Linked DNA regions of Homo sapiens: region 1 is linked to region 2. The links are contacts of gene promoters, found by promoter capture Hi-C in blood cells and fetal thymus (Javierre and others, 2016). All regions are on one chromosome and are shown on one strand. Each heading gives the region's core, a stretch centred on a gene start or on the middle of the fragment in contact. The rest is flanking DNA. Distances are from core to core; before and after follow the strand shown.

The links. The method cuts DNA at HindIII sites, captures the fragments that hold promoters and counts their contacts. A CHiCAGO score of 5 or more calls a contact.
Region 1: a contact is called between a fragment that was not itself captured here and the fragment with the promoter of C1QTNF4 in region 2, in 2 of 17 cell types (M2 macrophages and megakaryocytes). The highest score is 6.2, in M2 macrophages.

Annotation. Positions count from the first base shown.
Region 1 is chr11:47,851,925-47,856,358 of GRCh38, reverse strand. No RefSeq gene overlaps it. Among named protein-coding and RNA genes, the nearest start is that of NUP160, 5.8 kb to the right of the region's middle. The HindIII fragment of the contact is 5,986 bases long and covers 1-4,434 here.
Region 2 is chr11:47,591,256-47,595,669 of GRCh38, reverse strand. It overlaps C1QTNF4 (C1q and TNF related 4), which reads left to right and starts at 1,259. Exons shown (of 2, transcript NM_031909.3): 1 at 1,259-1,522. The HindIII fragment of the contact is 4,016 bases long and covers 1-3,961 here.

The DNA.
Region 1 (4,434 bases), core at 224-2,723, 260 kb before region 2:
GAAAAGGACTCCCACAACTGATTAGCAAGAGAGGGAGGAGGGGCAATGCCCTACCAGTTAAGGTAGTGTATGTTGCCATGACTTACCTCTGGGAAAGGCAATTTATGAAGTTTTTATAGTCATCAGCACCTCAGTGTGAATTACTATAATGTCAACTCATTTCCAGTTATACCAGAGCTAGTTTTAATAGGTAAGGCATTCATATTTTCAGAAGTAAAACTCAGAACATATGGTTCAAGCGAGGATTTTTTTTTTTTTTTTTGAGATGGAGTCTTGCTTTGTCGCCCAGGCTGGAGTGCAGTGGTGCCACCTTGGCTCATTATGGCACCACTGCAACCTCCACCACCCAGGTTCAAGCAATTCTCCTGCCTCAGCCTCCCTAGTAGCTGGGATTACAGGTGCATGCCATCATGCCTGGCTAATTTTTTTTATATTTTTAGTAGACGTGGGGTTTCACCATGTTGGCTAGGCTGGTCTTGAACTCCTGACCTCAAGTGATCTGTCGCCTCAGCCTCCCAAACTGCTGGGATTACAGGCGTGAGCCACCTCGCCCACCTTAGCAAGAGTTTGTTTTGATTTTGTGAATTAAATTACATGTAAGCTCCTACAAAGATACAGAAGTAACATTTAACTAATCATATAATGAATCATAATTGAAATTTACAGAAAATTGGCTGGGCACAGTGGCTTACGCCTGTAATCCCAGCACTTTGGGAGGCCAAGGTGGGGGATCACTTGAGGCCGGGAGTTCGAGACCAGCCTGGCCAACATGGCGAAACCCTATCTCTACTAAAAATACAAAAATGTTGTTAGAGGTACACGCCTGAAATCCCAGCTACTAGGAGGATGAGGCATGAGAATTGCTTGAACCTGGGAGGTGGAGGTTGCAATGAACCAAGATTGCACCTTATACTCCAGCCTGTGTGACAGAGTAAGACTCTGTCTCAAAAAATTTAAAAAAAAATTTTTAAAAGGCCAGGCATGGTCGCTCACACCTGTAATTCCAATACTTTGGGAGGCCGAGATGGGAGGATCACCTGAGGTCAGGAGTTTGAGACCAGCCTGGCCAACATGGTGAAACCCCGTCTCTACTAAAAATATAAAAATTAGCTGGGCGTGGTGGTGCACGCCTGTAGTCCCAGCTACTTGGGAGGCTGAAGCAGGAGAATCACTTGAACCTGGGAGGCGGAGGTTGCAGTGAGCAGAGATCAGGCCACTACACTCCAACCTGGGCGACAGAGTGACACCCTGTCTCAGAAAAAAAAAAAAAAAGTAAAAAAAGAGAAATTTATAGAAAATATTACCTGAAAGGTGAAAACAATCCAGGGTGTATAGTTCCCAAGGATAAGTCCAAAGCACAGGAGGGTCAAGTCTAGGTGGGAGCCCTGGGCTTTCAGGGCCCCTCAAAGGCCCTGGAGTCTAAAGTCATGGTGGTTTCCTAAGTGGGTAGAAAGAATACTGAAAACGGAATTGAGAAGTCACTGACATACTTCATTTATTCCACAATTCTGCTTTTTTTTTTAGAAACAGAGTCTCGTTCTGTCACCCAGGCTGGAGTGCAGCGGCACAGTCATAGCTCATTATAACCTTGAACTTCTGGGCTCAAGGGATCCTCCTGCCCCAGCCTCCCAAGTAGCTGAAACTACAGGTGTACACTACCATACTTGGATAATTTTTTTTTTTTTTGTAGAGATGGAGTCTCACTATGTTGCCCAGGGTGGTCTCAAACTCCTGGGCTCAACCAATCCTCCTGCTTCAGCCTCCCAAAATGCTGGGATTGTAGGTGTGAGCCACCATGCCCAGCTGATATTTTTAACCTATGGGCAAAATGAAAGTAAAGCCATGTTTTCCAAAATATATTCTCAAAGAACAATGGTCCAATGAGTTGCCCCTTGAAAAGAGTATTCTGTATGTCAAAGAGTCTGGAAAGCAGTATCATGCATAAGGCCTTCTTGGAACTTCACAAAGCTATTATATTAATGTCTTTGAAAAGTTCTTCAAGAAAGAAATATGTTTAACTTTATTTATCATCATTTCCCACACTTGTTTAAACCACCAAATTCTTCTTTCAAGGAGTAGCTATCAAGTTGGTTATGAAAATCTGCTTAAAGTTCAATTAACAGTATTGTTCAGCTGAGCGCAGTGGCTCACACCTGTAATCCCAGCACTTTGGGAGGCCAAAGTGGGTGGATCACGAGGTCAGGAGTTCAAGACCAGCCTGGCCAAGATGGTGAAACCCTGTTTCTACTAAAAATAAAACAATTAGCCGGGCGTGGTGTCGGGCACCTGTAATCCCAGGTACTCAGGAGGCTGAGGCAGGATAATCACTTGAACTCAGCAGGCAGAGATTGCAGTCAGCTGAGATCATGCCCCACTGCACTCTAGCCCGGGCAACAGAGCGAAACTCCGTCTCAAAAAAAAAAAAATAAAGAAAAAGTCCGGGCGTGGTGGCTCACGCCTTCGGGAATCCCAGCACTTTGGGAGGCCGAGGCGGGCGGATCACGAGGTCGGATGTTCAAGACCAGCCTCACCAACATGGTGAAACCCCATCTCTACTAAAAGTACAAAAATTAGCCAGGTGTGGTGGTGCGTGCCTGGAATCCCAGCTACTCAGGAGACTGAGGCAGGAGAATCGCTTGAACCTGGGAAGTAGAGGTTGCAGTGAGCAGAGATCGCGCCACTTCACTCCAGTGTGAGCAACAGAGCGAGACTCCATCTGAAAAAAAAAAAAAGTATTTAAATAAAACTTGCTGCACAATATTGGTAACATTCTGCATTTTGTTTCTAAACGAAGTCACTACCTAACCACTAGATGGCAATATGATTCAATTTATGTTATAACCATCCCCCAGAACATTAATAGTTCAAAGGGTATTTGAGTTTTCCAAAAATGCATATATGCACTTATTCATTCATTTAATTATTCCTCAAACATTTATTAGGTAACGTGAAGTTCCCGGAATTCTGATGGATGTTGGAGATAAGACAGTGATCTAAAGCTAAAAAGTGTTCACTGTCAAAAAATGTAATTCCTAGATTCCTATAAAACCGAAACATGCCTCATCAATTTAACATTTTTTTCTGAGAAAAAAATGAAAAAACATTACTACATTAAATATGTACATTGAGGCCGGGCGCGGTGGCTCATGCCTGTAATCCTAGCACTTTGGGAGGCTGAGACGGGTGGATCACTTGAGGTCAGGAGTTCGAGACCAGCCTGGCCAACATGGTAAAACCCCACCTCTACTTGAACCCAGGAGCTGGAGGTTGCAGTGAGCCAAGATTGAGCCACTGCACTCCAGCCTGGGCGACAGAGTGAGATTCTGTCTCAAAATTAATTAATTAATTAATTTAATTTAATAAAAATAAAAATAGCAATCATGTATTTAGCTCATTAATATGCAATTTGGACAGGGCTCAGTGGTCATGACTCATCTGTGCTCTACAAAATATCTGGGACCTGGGGACTTACCAGGCATCTCTCACTTCAAGTAGAATTAGAGTCTCTGTGTGTGGTCTCTCCCTGCAATCTGCCTAGGATGGCCCCGGCGTAGCCAAATTTCTTACATGGCAGCTTGCTTCCCCTATAGCCAGTCTTCAAAGAGAGATGTAGACTCTCTTAAGCTAGGCTGGCACAGCATCACTTTTGCTGTATTATATTCCTTATAGCAGTTACAGAACCCTCCAGATTTAAGGGGAGGGGACAAAGAAGGCTACACTTCTGGATGGGAACAATGTCAAAGAATTTGTGGCCATCTTTCTTTTGCCATATGGATATATGAGATTTGGGTGTTGGGATTAAAAGAGAAAAGTCCAGGGTAATTACTAGATTTCTAGACTGGGCCACAGTGGTGATGTCCACACAGATATAGACTACATGTGAGAGTATATAGTGAGACTATATAGAGAGGGGTAACATTTTGGATATGTTGAATTTGAGATGTCCATGGGAAATCCAAGGGGCATCAAGGAGGCAACTGAATATAAAAGGCTGAGAACTCGGCAAAAGAGGTCTGACCTCTAGATATGAAAGTGGAAATAATCAGTCTTCGGAATAGTTCTCTCTACTGTGGCACATCAGTGTCATGAGCAGTTATAACTTAGATAACCAGGAATTTGTAAATAATAACAGTTGAAGTGTGGCCAGGCGCGGTGACTCACACCTGTAATCCCAGCACTTTGTGAGGCCGAGGCAGGCAGATCATGAGGTCAGGAGATTGAGACCATCCTGGCTAACACTGTGAAACCTCATCTCTACTAAACATACAAAAAAAATAAGCCAGGCGTAGTGGCAAGCACCTGTAATCCCAGCTACTCAGGAGGCTGAGCAACTGGAACAGTGCTGGTAACTGCGATGGGGAAAGTAAGTGTGGGGAGAGAGGTTAGGACTTCAGTTTCAGACATGTTACATCTAAGATACAAAATAGGCCGTTG
Region 2 (4,414 bases), core at 10-2,509:
ACCCTCTGTCACCAAATACCCTCATTATCCAGCCCAAAACACCTCCATTCATTCCTTTCTATTCTGGCACATATTCGTTAATTCATTCCATCATTCACCTAACACCCTTGAAGCAGAGCCAATCACCTCTACCAACATCTTCCTAGAGACAAATAGATTAACTGGGGTGGGGTAAACTTTGAGAGCTCCAAAAGGAAAGCTCCAGAGGACGGGGGTTCTGCAGGGGTCCAGGCCTCTCAGGGACCACAGAGCAGACCTGCAGCAGAGGCAGAATTAGAGCCCATGGCTCTGGAGTCAACCAGGGCCAGGCAGAGGGCACCAGCTCTTGGCTGCTGAAAGTAGAGCTCTTCAAAAGTCATCCACTCAGTCAGCATCTACTGAGTGCCAGGCAGTGTCGTCACCTCTACAGCCGTCAGGGGAGAGAACAGCAGCCTAGAGAAAGGGAGTCTGAGCCCCCATCCCACGGGCTCGAAGCCCAGAGTAGAGGCCAGCACTAGTGCCTCTGGTGAGTATTACCATGGGAAGACCGCTGTTCCCAGCCCGGGTGCCCTGCTGGACTCTTGCTAGCCTGGCCCCAGCGAGGCAGGGCATCAGTTTCCCTCTCCAGAGGCCTTTCTTCCCCACCTATTGCCCTCTCAATCCTGTCCCTTCTTGCAGGAGCAACCTTCCCAGCAGAAAATTCCATTCTGCCCCAAGGACTCTCCTCCTTACTGCCCCTCACCCCGGGGAACGCAGGCTGCCCCTCTGATGCCTGCAGACTCCCTTCTCCCTCTTTCCTAACCGACCGTGGGCATTTTCCAATTTGGAGGTGAGGAGGAAAAACTAGGTTATTTTCAGCTCTTCCTTTACTGGCAACATTGACCCATTTATCCTTCTCTTCCTTCAGACCTCTCCCCCAAGGCCACTTAGCTTGGACATCTGTCCCAGCCAAAATCTCACCTTCCACTGTCCTTGCAGCCCAAAGGCTAGTCCAGCCTCTGAGTCCAGCTCTAGCCCTCTCTCCCCACACTAGGAAGGAAGCTGGACTGTAGAGCGCTCTGGGCCACCCCGCGTTAGCTGCTGCCTCTGGCCTCAGTTTCCCCAACTGCTCAGATTAATGATGCCTGCTCTCTAGACCCAGAGGACGAAGCTCTAAGGAGGTCACAGATGAGGAAGGGTCCAGTGCTCGGCGCAGACTCCGTGCGGAGCCCCTAGGCCCCGCAGCTCGCCCCTCCCTCTCCCCTACTCCCCTCCTCTCCCCCTCCCGTCTCTCCCCCGCCTCTTCGCTCTCGCTCGGCTCCCTCTCTAGCTGACCTTCCCTTTCCCTCACGCCTCCCCACGCCCGGCCCCTGGCCCCAGCACCCTGTCCGCTGCCGCCTCAGAGCCGGGAAAAGCAGCCGGAGCCCCCGCCGCCCCTGCCGCAGCGCGGGCGGTCAGCGCGCAGCCCGGCACCCGCAGCCTGCAGCCTGCAGCCCGCAGCCCGCAGCCCGGAGCCAGATCGCGGGCTCAGACCGAACCCGACTCGACCGCCGCCCCCAGCCAGGTGAGGGCAGCTGAGGGGAGGCAGGGAGCCGAGGTTCCCCCTTTACTGGAAGCGAGGGCTGGGGAGGCGCGGGGAAATTGGGTCCTTTTTCCTTGAAAGGAGGACCTGGGAGCCTTTTCGTGAAACAGGCACAAGGGCTTTCATTCCAAAGGGATGGATGGATGGAGGGAAGGTCTCGGGGGAGAGGGATTGGTTTTTGTTTTTTAAAAATAAGGATTAATTGGCTTCTGTGAAAGTGGGACTTCTTGGAAGGATGAGGGGCTTTCAAGGTAGGTTGGGGAGGGGGCTCTGGCAGGGCTTGAGGGAAGGGTTAACTGGTGAGTGGCAGGGCAAGGGGGAACTCTGCGATCCCCTCAGCCTGACATCGCTGCACCTCCCGCCTTGGCTCCGGGGCTCTGGGTCTCTCCAGCTCTGTGTCCCAGTTTTTCTCTTTGAAGATGACTATTTTGAACCCCACCTGGACAGAGCCAGGAACAGCCATTTCCTTCCCTGGAGCTATGACACCCACCTGACACACCCTCCCACACCTCTGACCTGCTCAGGGAAGGGGGTTCAGGGAAGGACGAGGATCCAGGGATCTGGGAATTGGGCAGTGTGGGTGAAACGGAGGCTGGGTACTGGGTGCACAGGAAGACCCTTGGCACTGGTGGGGTGCACCAGCCTTGGTCAGGAGGTTGCTGGGCAGCTGCTTCTGGGGCAGGACCCACTAGGAAAGCAGCGGTATGGAAAAGCTGAGCTGTTTTCCGTGTTCCCAGAAGACAAAACACTAGAGAATGTGTTTGCTTGCTTTTGTTTGGTTTTGCTTTCTGTCTTCCTCACCCTGGATCCCAAGACTCATTCCTCTGATCTCCTCTCCTAGTTTTGCAAAAAGGTAAACTGAGGCACAGAACAAATTGGCTGGACATACCTGTGTCTAGGAGGGAAGAGTGACAGGAAGGCATACGGAATTTGAGTCAAAAAACCTCAGTGCTCCATGGGTGACCTTGGGCCAAAATGCTTTCCCTTGTTGGGCCTCAGCTTTCTCATCTATAAAATGGGAGACGGCCCACCTGTCTTGTAGGTTTGCCAAGACCATGTGTCTAAAAGAACTTTGTAAAAGGGAATGCACTGGACACTTGTGAGGTGCCATCTTCACCACTGTGGATGGCCCCTTCCCTCCTCCCTGTCCTAACCAAGGGACACCTAACTAATCCATAGGACACCTTTGTGAGAATTACAAAAAGCACCTCCTCTGGAAGGAGACAGCATTCAGTTGGCTAGCAACTTGGGGTCTTTAGTATGAGAATGAGAAGGTGGCATACTTTACGCCAGGTGCTGCTCTAACATGTGGAGTGTGAGCTAGATTCTAGCTGGGACGTTCTGCACATCTACACCTGACAACCCTTCTCAGCAGGTCCCTGCTGTCTCTAAGAGACACAGAGCTACACATACAGGGCATTTTCTAAAGCAGCCCACATCCCAGGCTGTCTCCAGCTCATTTCTTTCCTGTTTTGTTTCCACATCAGGGCTTTTGGGTATTCAAGCCCCAAAGCACGTGCCCTACTAGGAAGCAGGATGGAATCCCTACATCAGAGAGTGACTCCTTTGAGTTAAGCAGTGCCTTCACCAAGCTCTCAGGGGTAGGAGTGACTGAGTCCCTAAACCCTTACGTCAAGAACTGGACCAGATCACTTTTGTCAGGGCAACCGACAGAAGCATCTGCACACCTCAGCACTGCCGTTGACAAACCATGTTCACACCTATCTCAGCACACCCCCACAGCAAGCCTGTGTGTGAGGTCTCTTCCCCATTTACATGGAGGAAGCCATGCCCAGAGAAGTTAGGGAACCTGCCCAAGGTTTCACAGTGTGAGTGGTAGAGCCAGGACCTGAACCCAGATCTGGCTATCTGTCCTCTCCAATCCATCACTCCCAAGGAACAAAGCTGCTGACTTCACAGCCTTGCCAAAGCCCTGCTGGAATTGTTGCTGTCCCTGTCCATCCCCAGTAGCCCCTGGCTCGCCACTCCTTCTTCTGAGTAACCAGCCTCCAAGCAAAGAGAAAGGAGTCACCTTCTCTTTTACTCTGATTTCAAGGGGGAGGAAGCTACCTCAAAGCCCAACTGTTCTCGCCTCCTCTGTGCAGGAAGGGCCCCTGGTGAGGCCAGGAAAGGGGTCAGGGAGCAGCGATTTCCTTTCCTGCTCAGATGGGGCTTAAACAGTAACGGTCATGCAGAGCGTTGACACAGAGAGCCAGTGCCTGCGTGAGTGGCAGACCAAGGACCATAAAATAACCACAGGAAAATGCAGCCAACTGGAGCTGAGGGGAACTCAGAGACTCCCCTGAATCCCCCGGGTTACCAGGGCCCCTGAGTGTCAAATGGGAGGTGTAGGGGCAAGCCCAGCAGACAGGGCTGTAGGCCTCTTTAACCAGAGTGTTTCTGCTAGTCTGTGTTCAAGCTTTCACTTAAGAAAGGGGTTTCGGCCGGGCGCGGTGGCTCACGCCTGTAATCCCAGCACTTTGGGAGGCCGAGGCAGGCGGATCACAAGGTCAAGAGATCAAGACCATCCTGGCCAACATGGTGAAACCCTGTCTCTACTAAAAATACAAAAATTAGCTGGGTGTGCTGGGTGCAAGCCTGTAGTCCCAGCTACTTGGGAGGCTGAGGCGGGAGAATCGCTTGAACCTGGGAGGTGGAGGCTGCAGTGAGCCGAGATCAAGCCACTGCACTCCAGCCTGGCGACACAGCCAGACTCCGTCTCAAAAAAAAAAGGGGGGGGGGCGGGGTTTCAAGGCCAGGCGCGATGGCTCACGCCTGTAATCCCAGCACTTTGGGAGGCTGAGGCAGGTGGATCACTTGAGGTCAGTTCAAGACCAGCCTGGCCAACATGGTGAAACCCCGTCTCTACTAAAG